Linked DNA regions of Homo sapiens: region 2 is linked to region 1. The links are contacts of gene promoters, found by promoter capture Hi-C in human tissues and cell types (Jung and others, 2019). All regions are on one chromosome and are shown on one strand. The core of a region is centred on a gene start or on the middle of the fragment in contact, and the rest is flanking DNA. Distances in the headings are between cores, read along the strand shown.

The links. Contacts are between HindIII fragments. The study calls those that stand out against the background at their distance.
Region 2: a fragment that was not itself captured here is called in contact with the fragment with the promoter of SCD5 in region 1 in 2 of the 25 tissues and cell types used here (dorsolateral prefrontal cortex and spleen).

The regions. Positions count from the first base shown.
Region 1 is chr4:82,796,456-82,803,428 of GRCh38, reverse strand. It overlaps SCD5 (stearoyl-CoA desaturase 5), which reads left to right and starts at 4,633. Exons shown (of 5, transcript NM_001037582.3): 1 at 4,633-5,123. The coding sequence starts at 4,892. RefSeq lists enhancers at 3,475-4,191, 4,192-4,909, 5,886-6,407 and silencers at 4,278-4,697, 5,028-5,077. The HindIII fragment of the contact is 23,697 bases long and covers 1-6,973 here.
Region 2 is chr4:82,616,962-82,623,142 of GRCh38, reverse strand. LINC00575 (long intergenic non-protein coding RNA 575) reads left to right here and starts at 1,706. Exons shown (of 4, transcript NR_024088.1): 1 at 1,706-1,931. The HindIII fragment of the contact is 5,001 bases long and covers 1,169-6,169 here.

The sequences.
Region 1 (6,973 bases), core at 3,384-5,883:
AAAATAACTGTACACTGAAAACTACAAAATGCTGCTGAGAAATTAAGGAAGACATAAATAAGTGAAAAGACATGCCATGTTCATGGATTGGAAGACTTAATATCATTAACATGAAAATACTAATTAAAGTTATATACAGGTTTACTGCAATCCCTATCAAAATCTCAATATCATTTTTGGCAGACCTAAAAAGATCCTAAAACTGGTATGGAATCTCAGTAAGCCCTGAATAGCCAAAACAATCTTGAAAAAAAAAAAAAAAAAAAGAGAACAAAGTTGGAGGTCTCAAACTTCCTGATTTCAAAACTTCCTGATTTCAAAGCTACAATAATTCAAACAATGTGGTACTGGCATAAAGACAGACATACAGACCAATGGAGTGAAATAGCCGAAAAAAAAAAAAAAACTCTCATATATACGGTCAACTGATCTTCAACAGGGGAGCCAAGACCATTCAATGGGGAAAGGATAGTTTCTTCAACAAATGGTGCTAGGAAGACTGGATATCTACACATAAAAGAATGAAACTGGGCATTTATCTTCTACAATACACAAAAATTAACTCGAAGTATATTAAAGACCTAAATGTAAGTTTTATAGCTAAAACTATAAAACTCTTAAAAGAAAATATAGAGGAAAAGCTTCATGACACTGGATTTGGCAATGATTTATTGGATACGACACCAAAAGCACAAGCACAGACAATATAAGTAAAAATAGATAAACTGGACTACATCAAAATTTAAAATGTCAGTGCATCAAAGAACACAATCAACAGAGTGAAAAAGGAAACCTACAGAATGGAAGAAAATATTTGCAAGTCATATATCTGATAGGTTAATATTCAGAATATGTAAAGAACTCCTACAACTCAACAACCACAACAACAAAAACCTTATTTAAAAATAGAGGACTTGAATAGATCTTTCTCCAAAGAGGGTATACAAATGACCAACAAGCACTTGAAAAGATGCTCAATATCACTAATTATTAAGGGAGGGCAATAAAAACTACCATGAGATATCACTCCTTACCCACTAGGATGGCTATTATCTAAAAAACAGAAAAAGTATCAGTGGGGATTTGGAGAAATTGGAACCGCTGGGCACTGTTGTTGGAAATATGAAATGGTGCAGCCACTATGGAAAACAGTATGACAGTTCCTCAAAAAATTAAACATAGAATTACCATAAGATCCAGCAATACCACTTCTGGATATACATATATATACCGAAAAGAATTGAAAGCAGGTCCTGAAGAGATCTTTGTACACCCATGTTCCCAGCAACATTATTTCCAGTAGCCAAAAGGTGGCGCAACCCAAATGTCCACTGTTAGATAGATGAATGGATAAACAAAATTCATATCCATACAATAGAATATTATTCAGTCTTAAAAGGAAGGGAATTCTAACACATACAACCTGGATGAGCTTTGAAAACATTCTAAGTGAAATAAGCCAGTCACAGAAAGACAAATCCTCTATTATTTCACTTATATGATGTATCTAGAGTAGTCAAACTAATTGAAACAAAGTAGCACAGTGGTTGCCAGCATCTGGATGGAGATTGAAAGGGGAGTTTAATGAGCATAAAGTTTCAGTTTTGCAAAATGATAAAGTTCTGCAGATCGGTTGCACAGTAATGTGCATATATAGTTAACACTACTGAACTGTACATTTAAAAACGGTTACAGTGGTAAATTTTGTTACATACATTTTATGTTACATGTATTTTACCACAATTAAATATTTTTTAAAAATCCTTCCCCAGGTATCACTCCCCCTCCTCCCTGCTTCTGTGTGAATTAACAACTCCCTCCTTTGCACCTCTACATTATCTTGCGTATACCACCATTATGGCTCTTATTACATTTTTGGTAATTACGTGTTTGACAGGATAAGGGTTACTGTCCCATTTGCCCCATCCTGGGACAGGTGAATACTTATCCACTCCTGGGGTCCTGACTAGAAGCTAGGAAAATATACTAGGGTCTTTGGCAAGACAGAGAAAAGAGGCAGTGACCCCTATGGCATAATTGGCTAAAGAGGACCGTCGTTATCAGCAAGAATATATCTTGGATCTTGTAGATGTTTCACTCTGAGGCTGGACCTGGAAGGACCATTTTTCTTCAACAATCCTTTTATAGGCAGGCTCTGACAAACCTAAGTAACACTTCTTTCCTCCCTCAACACACAAAAACATCTTCTCCATTATGAGGACAGCCAGCTGAAATGACTGGTCATACCTGGTCTGACCCACAGGAGGGAAAAGAGAAAGATGTTCATTCAAGATGGATTCAAGGGCCGGGCACAGTGGCTCACGCCTGCAATCCCACCACTTTGGGAGGCCAAGGCTGGCGGATCACAAGGTCAGGAGATCGAGACCATCCTGGCTAACGCAGTGAAACCCCCGTCTCTACTAAAAATACAAAAAAAAAAAAAAAAAAAAAAATAGCCGGGCGTGGTGGCGGGCACCTGTAGTCCCAGCTACTCGGGAGGCTGAGGCAGGAGAATGGCGTGAACCCGGGAGGCAGATCTTGCAGTGAGCCGAGATCAGGCCTCTGCACACCAGCCTGGGCAACAGAGCGAGACTCCGTCTCAAAAACAAAAACAAACAAACAAACAAAAGATGGATTCAAGATAGAACAGCTGACCTAATAAGGTTCTCAGGGGGGACAATAAGGAACTATTTTTGCTTCCCTTAGACTCCTTGTATGTAAGTTTGATACCTAATTAAATTTTTTTTTCCGATAATGGACTGTAACTTTCTGCCCTTCCAAGGTCATAGTCAAGAGGTTACATTTGTTTGCTCCATCTTTGCTTCTAGATGGGAGCTCCTTTAGGGGCGGGACCAGACTTTATTCATCCTTGGATCCCCTGTGCCCACTGGTCCTGGCACATAGCAGATGCCCAATAAATGCCAAATAAATGACTGAATGTTTAGAATGAGGGTCTTTACAGCATTGAGCCTTTCCAATAACCCGGAGAGAGGCTTTTGGCCGAGCAACTAGTCTACCCCAGAGAGAAAGGACAGTCTGAACTAGAGAGCCACAGGGAGTAGGAAGGTCTGCTGGGTATGGGGAGCAGAGGGAGCATGAGAAGAAAACGTGGTTCATTACATAGCCCAGGTTGAACAGACAGATGAAAATCGCACCCTCCAGCTTCATGTTCCACTGTCTGACTGGTCATTATATAGGGCCGACATTTATCTGGTCTCCAGGCAAATTCTATAATTTCAGCTCCGTCTGAAGCAACACAGTAACACTGACTCAGTGGCCTAGATTCCACAAGTGCCACATACCTTGCTTTAGCTTAAATCAGGCATTGTTTTGTCTGGCTGCTAGGACTGGCTCAGGTCTGCTAACAATAAGATGCTTATGCATGGCCCTTTCATGCAGTCAGTCTTTTAAATTTTTTTGCCTCTCTTGAAATCCTGGAAATGATTCCTAACAACGGTTAATCTAAAAATCAGCTGGTTTTGGTCAATATAATGGCGCCCCTTCGAACTCACATTCATGGAATATGGAAGCTGGAAGGAAGAGTAGAAACTAGTTCTGCTTCTCAGGTAAGGAAATCCGTGCCCAGAGAGTTGGGCTGGGTTCCAGCCAGTTAAAACTAGAACTCAGAGATGCTGTCCCGAGCCCTTTTACTTCTGCTGCCTGCCCGCAATTGCGGTCACACCTGCTTCAGACACTTCCAGCTCAATCCTCCCTCCATTTTCTGTGCAACTAGGGTCCTCTCTGGAGAGCTCTTAAGCCATCAGCTCTAGGAGAGAAGTGGGCAGACACAAATCTTTCACAGGTTAATTTTCCTTGGAACATTCTGGGTGATTTTTTTGTAAAGCCCGATTCTCAATGGTGTTGATTTCAGGGTAGTGTTCCTCACTGAGAGCTAAGGAGGCGTTGCAGAAGTGCGCTGATTAGCTAGAATTGACCATAAACAGAGTGGCGCGGCGGATGGGCAAAGGGTGGGCAGCGAACTGGCCCAAATCATCTGTGCATCACCTCACAAGCACCAACTGAGCACTTACTGTGTGCCTGGGTAATCCACAGCTGCCTAATTAAGAACGAGCAGCTGCCTTCCAACCCTCCCCTGGCCCGAGGAGCCCTACTAACTGGCAGATTGAGGGACTTCTGATTCTCATCGTGGGTCTGGCCTTAACTAGGGTCGCGACTCCAAGCAAGTATTTAAAATTCTCCAACCCAGGTGGCCTGAGGCTTGAGAAGAAATAAAAGGCTTCTCAAAGGGATGACAGTTTCGGGAAGTTTTTTTTTGGGGGGGGGACTGGAAAAATACCATAAAAGGCATTTTGGGGGTCACACACACACAAGAGCAGAAGCGCTGTGAGCCGCCCTGCAGGCTCCCTGCCCCGGGAGCCACCTTCCACCCGCCCCCGGGCGGAGGCGGCCAACTCCCGCCCAGCGGGCTCCCCAGTTCGGCCCCGAAAAGCCGAAAGGGGGGCGCCTTTGTCTATAAGCGCCGCACGGGCGCTCCTGATTGGCTGTAGCTAAGCAGGGCTTTCTTCCGCGCTCCTTCGGAGCGCTCCCTCCAGCGTCGCCGGCCCCGTTCCATTTTCACAGCTCCTCCTCCCCGGCCGCGCGCCCCTCCCGCCCCGCGCGCGCCTCCTCTTTCTCGCGGCCGAGTTCAGCCCGGGCAGCCATATGGGGGATACGCCAGCAACAGACGCCGGCCGCCAAGATCTGCATCCCTAGGCCACGCTAAGACCCTGGGGAAGAGCGCAGGAGCCCGGGAGAAGGGCTGGAAGGAGGGGACTGGACGTGCGGAGAATTCCCCCCTAAAAGGCAGAAGCCCCCGCCCCCACCCTCGAGCTCCGCTCGGGCAGAGCGCCTGCCTGCCTGCCGCTGCTGCGGGCGCCCACCTCGCCCAGCCATGCCAGGCCCGGCCACCGACGCGGGGAAGATCCCTTTCTGCGACGCCAAGGAAGAAATCCGTGCCGGGCTCGAAAGCTCTGAGGGCGGCGGCGGCCCGGAGAGGCCAGGCGCGCGCGGGCAGCGGCAGAACATCGTCTGGAGGAATGTCGTCCTGATGAGCTTGCTCCACTTGGGGGCCGTGTACTCCCTGGTGCTCATCCCCAAAGCCAAGCCACTCACTCTGCTCTGGGGTAAGTCCCGCCGGCGCCCCCTGCGCCCCGGCCTCCGTGGCCAGGCCGCGCTGGGGCGCGCGAGGTCGCCGCTCGCCCCTCGGCTGCGGGCGGTGCGCAGCGACCCCCGGTCTCCCCTCGCCTCCCGCTGCGCGCCGCGGCCCCCTTGGCATCCAGTTTTCCGTCCCTTGGGACGGGCAGGTGTTTCTGTCCCAGTATTTCAACTTCCGCCCCCCCCCCGCCCCCACCCCGCCGCGGTCTGCCTGAGGAAGCGCATTTGCCGGCTTCCCGATGGAGAGCCGGGGGGGACCCGGAGTCCTGCGGTGCCACCGCTGTGCGCAGAGGCGCGCGAAGGGAGAGGCTCGGCACAGGCTGAATCGGCTCCCAGCGAGGGAGGACGGGCGGGCGATTGTGTCACCTCTGCGGTCCCTGGGGCTCTCCTATCCCCCCCATCACCTCCGCGGGTCACGGACCTTGGGGACAGAGATGAGGACAAGTAAGGGAGTTGGACCGGGGAGGAGAGACCCGGCACAGGATAGAGTCTTGGTTTACGCGCACCAGATGGAAGATACCGGTTCCCCTCTTGCCTCTCCAAGGCCCCTGTCCCTGCCCCCTCCGCAATCTTCTATGCCCATTTGCAGTTCTCGGTGAAGTTTCTCGGTGAGCAAACCGATCCCATGGCGAGAGCGGTCTGACCCTAGCACGAAGCTCCGACTGTGGCTGTGCAGAGCCTTCTCCAAACCCTGTTCCCATGTGGCCAGTGGGAACCTGTGGCTCTCCTGGTACCCTCCTTCCGTGCACCCCCACTCCTGCCAGTAGGGAAGGGAGCCCGGGCGCCGACCACCATTCCCCTTCCCCTGGGCCCCAGGGACTGCGTGCCCACCCTACACGACCCCAGTCGTTGATCTTTGAACCACTTCGCAGCCGCCCTGGCCGCAATAACTGGTTTTGGCCTCCTTTACTGAAGCGGCAGTAGCCAGGACAAAAGGCACAGGCATTGATATGCTGAGTGAGAATTTGACGAGGTAATCCAAGATGCCCTTCCAGCTCCCGTTTCCCTGATCTCTAGGGGCGGGCAGGAGAAACACAACCTACTTTTATTTCCAGAGGGGAAGAGGAAGGAAGAAAATAAGACCTCTTTCTACAGGGCTTTTTTGGCATGGTGCCAGCTGCAAATGCCTAGGTAGATAATGGGGCCACTATGGTTCCAAGCCTTCCCTTGAAATCCTGCAGTCCCTGCTCTTGGAAGTAAACCCATCCAGAAGTGGGTACCTCTTAGGGGGTGTGGCTCAGGGAGGGCATAGCAGAGTTGACGGATGGTGAGAGAGGTAGGATCTTTGGGGATCCCTAAAGCCTTTAAAGTCTCCCCAAAGCTCTGGGAAATCTCCTGCTTCATCTTTCCTTCTCTCAGTGCACCTCCTCATTTCTGTGTCCTTTTCACCATCACCTTTATGTGTTGGTTTAATTCTCCAACTGACTGTAGACTGTATGATGTTCAGCTGTTGCTTCATCAACACACTCCGACACTGCCAACCAAAGCCCTTATTGCCCAGAGTTCTCCAACAAGCTCCTCTCTCCCCCCTGCTTCCAGAGGCAGGGCTGGGCTTGGTCCTCAGAGCCTGGTGACCTCTAGGGGATTGAGGCTTATCTTTAATAGCTGTGGTGTTCAGAGAGTGCTCAGGGAAAAGTGAGCACTTAAAATATTATCTTACATGCCTAGGGCTCACTGGCTCCACTTCTTACAGCCTCTGAGCCCCAAGACCCTGGCACTGGACCAGGAGCCACAAGGACAAGGCCCCTCTCTCCAAGTTTGCCAGGTCACCTCTGCCCTTTCCGGACCGCTCTCTGTGGTGAAGATAGAACCTTTGTTC
Region 2 (6,181 bases), core at 2,420-4,919, 180 kb after region 1:
AATTGAGAACATCCCTTACTGCAATTTCTATGCCACTGATTTTAGTACATTTTAAAAATTTCTTTTGCATCAAAAAGGAAATCAAATGAAAGCATATCAGGCTTGAAAGACCACTGGTGGTACTGTAGAACTTCCACAAGCCAATCTGCAAAAACACTTCAAATCTCTGAAATTTTGTTCAACAGGAAGGAAGGAAGGGAGGGAGGAAGGGAGGGACGGAAGGAGGGAGGGAGGGAAGGAAGGAAGGGAGGGAGGGAGGGGGGGAGGGAAGGAAGGAAGGAAGAAAGGAGGGAGATTCATCAAGAAGTATTTTCCCAAACTACACCTAGTTGTGACAATATTTGGCTCAATTTTATAAATCTATTACAGCTGCATCTACAAAACAATATGCTAATAATTCACAACTCATATGTAAGAGCCATGCAGACCATGACTGTCTTCTTCACCAGTGTTTTCCCTGCCCACATGACAAGGCCTGAGAGGTGGGATGTGCTCACTAAAAATTTACTGAATGAATGAATGAGTGAATGAATGGGTAGATGCACTGTACTACAATGCAGAAAGAAAACTCTGCCAGTTCTGGTGGCTCACACCTGTAATCCCAGCACTTCGGGAGGCCAAGTTGGGAGGGTCTCCTGAAGTCAAGAGTTCGAGACCAGCCTGGGCAACATAGCAAGACCCCATCTCTAAAAAACAAAAAAGAAAAGAAAGAAAATTCAATTTAGTATTTCTGTGTCTCATCTTCTGTTTGCCCTGTTAAATATGAAACTGCAGGCAGGCAAGGCCCTCATTTGTCCTGTGCACAGTTGTATCCTAAGCGCCCAGCAGCAAGAGCTTACCATGTAGCAAGACCTCCAAAATTTTTGCTGAACTGTTGGCGTTTATGAATATGGATAGGCCCTTCTCTTGGAAAATTGTTGACCCAAGCCTGGCACGGTGGCTCACGCCTGTAATCCCAGCACTTTGGGAGGCCAAGGAGGGCAGATCACCTGAAGTTGGGAGTTCGAGACCAGCCTCACCAACCTGGAGAAACCCCATCTCTACTAAAAATACAAAATTAGCCAGGCGTGGCGGCTCGTATCTGTAATCCCAGCTACTCAGGATGCTGAGGCAGGAGAATCGCTTGAACCTGGGAGGCAGAGGTTGCGGTGAGTCGAGATTGTGCCATTGCACTCCAGCCTGGGCAACAAGAGTGAAACTCCATCTCAAAAAAAAAAAAAGAAAAGAAAAGAAAAGAAAATTGTTGACCCAGAAATCTGAACTTACAAAAGTAAATAAATTAGAAGACAATTCTGAATTTTACAAAGTATTTATTACGGGTTTCCTTTCATAAGCAGGCCTTGAAAACATGCCTTAACTTTAAAGTCTTCATGTAACTTTTATGAAGAACATGTGCCATAGGATGCAAGATACAGCTGACTGCCAGGACTGTGCAATCACAGAGCCATTTCCAGACGGTCAGAGTTAGAAGGCTGCGCCTCCCTGCCACTAGGTCAACCACTAGGCCACAAGCAAAAGACTCGGCTAAGGAGTGAAACAGGCAATGGCAATGTTATGGGCTGGATTTTGTCCCCTCAAATTCTTATGCTGAAGTCCTAACCCTCTAGTACCTCAGAATGTGACTAGAGATAAGGTCTTCAAAGAGGTAATTAAGTTAAAAAGAGTTCATTAGGATGGGCGCTAATCCAATCTGACAGGTGACCTCACAAGAAAAGGAGATTAGGGTACAGATACACACACAGGGAAGAATGCATGAAGTCCCTGGGATAAGGCAGCCATTTACAAGCCAAGGGAAAGGCCTCAGAAGAAACCAGTCTTGCCGACAGCATGATCTCTCATCCTCAGAACTGGGAGGAAATACATCTGTGTTGTTTCAGCCACTCAGTTGGTGATCTCTATTACAGCAGTCCTTAGCAAACCGATTTAGACAGGTAAGTGGAAATGTCTTCCTTTAGACTCCCTTCTACTGTTTTACAGACTAGAAGGATAATATAGAAGTGTCCAAGTTCCAGGCGAGACTATCAGAAGGCAAAAGCAAACGCTGCCTCCTGCTCTTTCCCCTCCGCCCCACCCACTCCGCCACCCTGTAATTGTCATCTCGGCTGGGTCTCTGTCTCCATTGTGCCCTGAATTAATTCTCCCTGGATGCGAGGTGGTGGTGATTCCACAGAGAGAGCTGCCTTACAGATCAGCATCACGTCAGTGTCCCAACAGAAAACAACACTGGAAAATTATTTGCCTTTCCTTTTAACAATCAACAAGAATTCACTTAGCTCCCACTGTGGTGAAGTCAGGGGACCGAACCTAGCAGGGAGATGGGTATAGTTTCTGACCCTTAGGAAGGAAACCCATCTCCCTTCTCATTGTCCAAATACACTCACGTCATTTGGACATTTTTCAGCAATTACTTTTGCAAACGTTGTAGAAAAATAAGTGACTTAGTAAGTCCTGAGCCTTCACTTAAGAAATTGGCCTGGGCCTTACTGAATAGGGGGTAGAAGAGGGAAATGGTCCATGTGTACTCTTTTATAGACAAAAAAAGTTACATTCTTTCACTGAAAAAAGGCCAACCATCATCAAAACAATTTAATACATTCTACCTCTTTAATAGAAGCTCAAATCAAATGTCTCACTCAGTCAAACTGAGTTAGGAGAGAAGCCATCTGCCGGCTCCCAGTTCAGCTCCAGCAGGACTGTTTTGAACACCATCGGCTGAGTCCTGTTCGTATCACTAAAAAATTATCTTAACTGCTCGCTGCAAAAAGTAATTTGCCCAGCATTGTCCATTCCTCGGAAGCAGAACTAATGTTTCCTGTGGCTGTGAATGGCTGTGAAACAGCATCACAAGATAAATGCCTACAGGCAGCTGGAGAAAGTGAGCTGCCATCAGAGAGGAGTCCTCTGACAGAAGTGGTGAGACCTAAGGGTCACATGCAAGGATAGCCACAGGCCACTCTGCAAATCAATAATCAAGACCCTGAAAGAGGGGCAGTTCTGGGAAGTTTGGGCTGCATAGGCAGGTGCATAAGGAGCCTCAGGAATGCTGCTGGATTCAGACTCTGGTCCCTGTGTCACCTCTCACCCTCATGTATAAGGCCCAGGAAAGTAGAATGTGGTGTGTGTGCATGTGTGTGGTGTATGCGAGTGGGCACTCCGTTTCTGAAGTGTCTCCTACCTTTCCCCCTTCCCTCCTCTCCCCTCCTCTCCTCTTCTCTCTCTCTCTCTCTCTCTCTCTCTCTCTCTCTCTCTCTCTCTCTCTCTCTTTCTCTCTCTGTCTGTCTGTCTCTGCACTCATTCCTAAGGCCCCTGATTTGGCAGTGGAGCTACTGACGGGTGGAGAGAGATCCTTTGTTAGCTGGGCAGTGACTCTGGGGTGCAGACAGCTGGGGAGAAGCTTGACAAGACAAAGAAACATCTCTGCCTGTCTCAGGCCTTCCCCACCACTGGATTCTCTCTCCCTGGGAGACTTTGCTCCTTCTCCAAGGCTGCCCTGGTGTGCCGCCTGTGTTTGCTGAGCCCCTCCACCCTGCTGAACACCCTGGGAGGCTGATGGGCATGCATTATACCAACAAGCTGTTCCGGATGAAGAATGGGGAGCATTGGCAGGATGGAGGGAGGAGGGTGAGGCGCAGGTGCTTACTCCCCGACTCCCTCCCTTCAGGGAGGCTGCATCCCCACCTGACAGTCTGTACTCAGGGCTGATGAGGTCAGTGGGGCCCCTCTCTTCCTAGTCTGCTCTGTGGCTGTGGGTGCTCTACCCGCTACCTGTGCATTCGGGAGGATCCCACGTGGCAGCCATGGAGGTGCACCTCTCAGATCTTCTTGCATGAAAGAACTTGCCATTCAGCTGCAAGGCTGCAGTGAATTGACTGCCTTCAACCTTCAAGATCAATTTTATGGTTGTTCTTGCTGCTGCTGCTGCTGCTGCTGCTTGCCACGCTCTTTCCGAACAGCCCCAGCTAATGACTGAATATGATGGGGATACAAGGGCCGGGGGTCCTGACCATTTCTGTGTGACAACAGAGACTCCTCTAACTGGCTGTCTTTGCTCCTGCTCCTGACTGGGTTGGTTAAGACTCAGTCAGATCAGACTCATGCTCTGAGCTTCCCTGGCCCAGTCCTGCTTTGACCCTTCTTTTTTATTACAGGTGATTTGCATCAAGACTGAAGGTTTTCCCTGTTCATTCCTACTTCCTGCTTCTTTTATCTTCCATAGACATAACCCCTAATAAATCCTAACTTCTAACTAACTCCACACTCCTAACTGCATCCCAGCATCTACTTCCCAGAGAATCCAGCTAGCACATGGTTTGATTAAACTCTACTCAAATCACCCAATTCGATGGTACCGTCTTTCCCATCAGGCCCCTGACTGATGCACCTTGACATTCATTTAGTGAAATTCCACATGGGTTAACATATTGACTTGGGGAGAAGACTCTCCTGAACCCTCCCAGGCTGCCCTGTTATGTTTGTGGACAAAGAAGAATGGAACTCCTGGACCATAGTTCCTGTGGGTTCCTGGCTTCCCTACCAGCCTTCCTCATCACCCACATCCAGACTCCCAGCCAGTTCCTCCAGGCTTGTAATGGGATCCTGAGATAACAGGCAATGCTGGAGAAAGGGGGAGAGGCTGCTGGACTGTGGGAAATGAGCAGTGACAGTAATGAGAACCACATGTCTCAACAGAAGCTTAGAAAAGCACATTTAATCCTAATCAATCAGAAGAAAATGTCCAAAGTCACCGAAGCAGTGAGGCAAAAATAGTATTGAGAAGGTTCAAAGTCTACTCAGAACCCCTGGAATCCAAACTTGTCACTCACTGGGAACTGGGCTTACTGGCCTTCCCAGGCCTGATGTGTGCTCTGAAGAGGAGAAGATTAAGAAGCGTGCTCTCTGCAGGCAGGATGGCTGTGAATTGCTTGGCTTAGGACATGGGATGTCTAATGCACTTTTGGGAAATATCTAGGTTGGTAATTCCCAAATCTATTTTTACAAAACCTTGAGAATTTTATAATTCTCACCAAGATGAGATGGGTGCCACAAAATCCTAAAAACTAAACTGACTTAGTTATAAAAACTGAGTATGTCATAGAGAGTAGGAAGACAGAGCCTGCGTTTTTGAGGGCTCTTCTAATTTCAAAAATGCTGGCCTGTTAACAAAAAATGTACTTATTATCAAATAGTATATCTTCTTTGAGGTTCAGAAAATTGGGTCCTATTGTCCATGCAGCATTTTTAGGATAGGTAAAAAGATGGGGGAAGGAGAAGTATGACTGAACTTGAAGTTCTCAAACTTCAAAAATGCTAAGATTCATTCCATTCATATCAGTTCTTTGTTCTTTCATGTAACACATGAAACTTAATGATCTTCACTTAATGTCCCCCACCCCCAAATCCTTAGAGTTGTCATGATTTGTTGATTTGAGGGGGGAACATAGGGAAATGCCAAGTGGGGCAGAAACAGCTCCAGTCCTCAGACAGCAAGGCGAACCCTAATTACCAGGCACCTTGGCCCAGGCAGCTTTCAGACTCTGAGCCCCTTCACCTGGGAGCTTGTTTCTCACCTTCAGATGGAGCTGAACTGTAACCGTAACTGTATTTGAGTCAGGATCCACATTTGTGACAAGGACTCATTCCTACCTTATGCAAATTTGTCCCTGAACAGCAGCAAAAACTTAGGAAATCTGCAGGCTGCACTGATCTTCCCCCCCCCCGCCCCCACTCCCCTCCCATGGAACCTGGGCCTGACACGGCAGGAGGCTCTGTCAGGGGCTGAAACGTTGGTGCAAGCCATTCCCTCCATACTTCTGCTCTCTGCAGTCTTTAGCCACCTCCCCAAAGGCAACGCTCCACTCCCTACTCGCCCTCGCCTCTCTGCTCGCCTCAGTGTTCTTTTGTAATTTATTTCCTCTGACTCTTTCCTTCACTGAATAGAGCTCCCCTGTCCATTTTCATTGGTTTCTAAACTCCCATTGGAAACAAACACTTTATTTCAGCCTTCCAGGATAGAAGCTGCTCCACTCCATCACCCCACAATCATTAGGGCCAGTGAGGGGAGATAAATACTCTCCTACTGGCCATTTCTCATTGGTATTTCCAATCCAGCACGTCTCCACTCTCAGGCGAGAACCTCTGCCCTTTGGCCCTCCTCCCCTGACGTGTACACGTTCACATACAT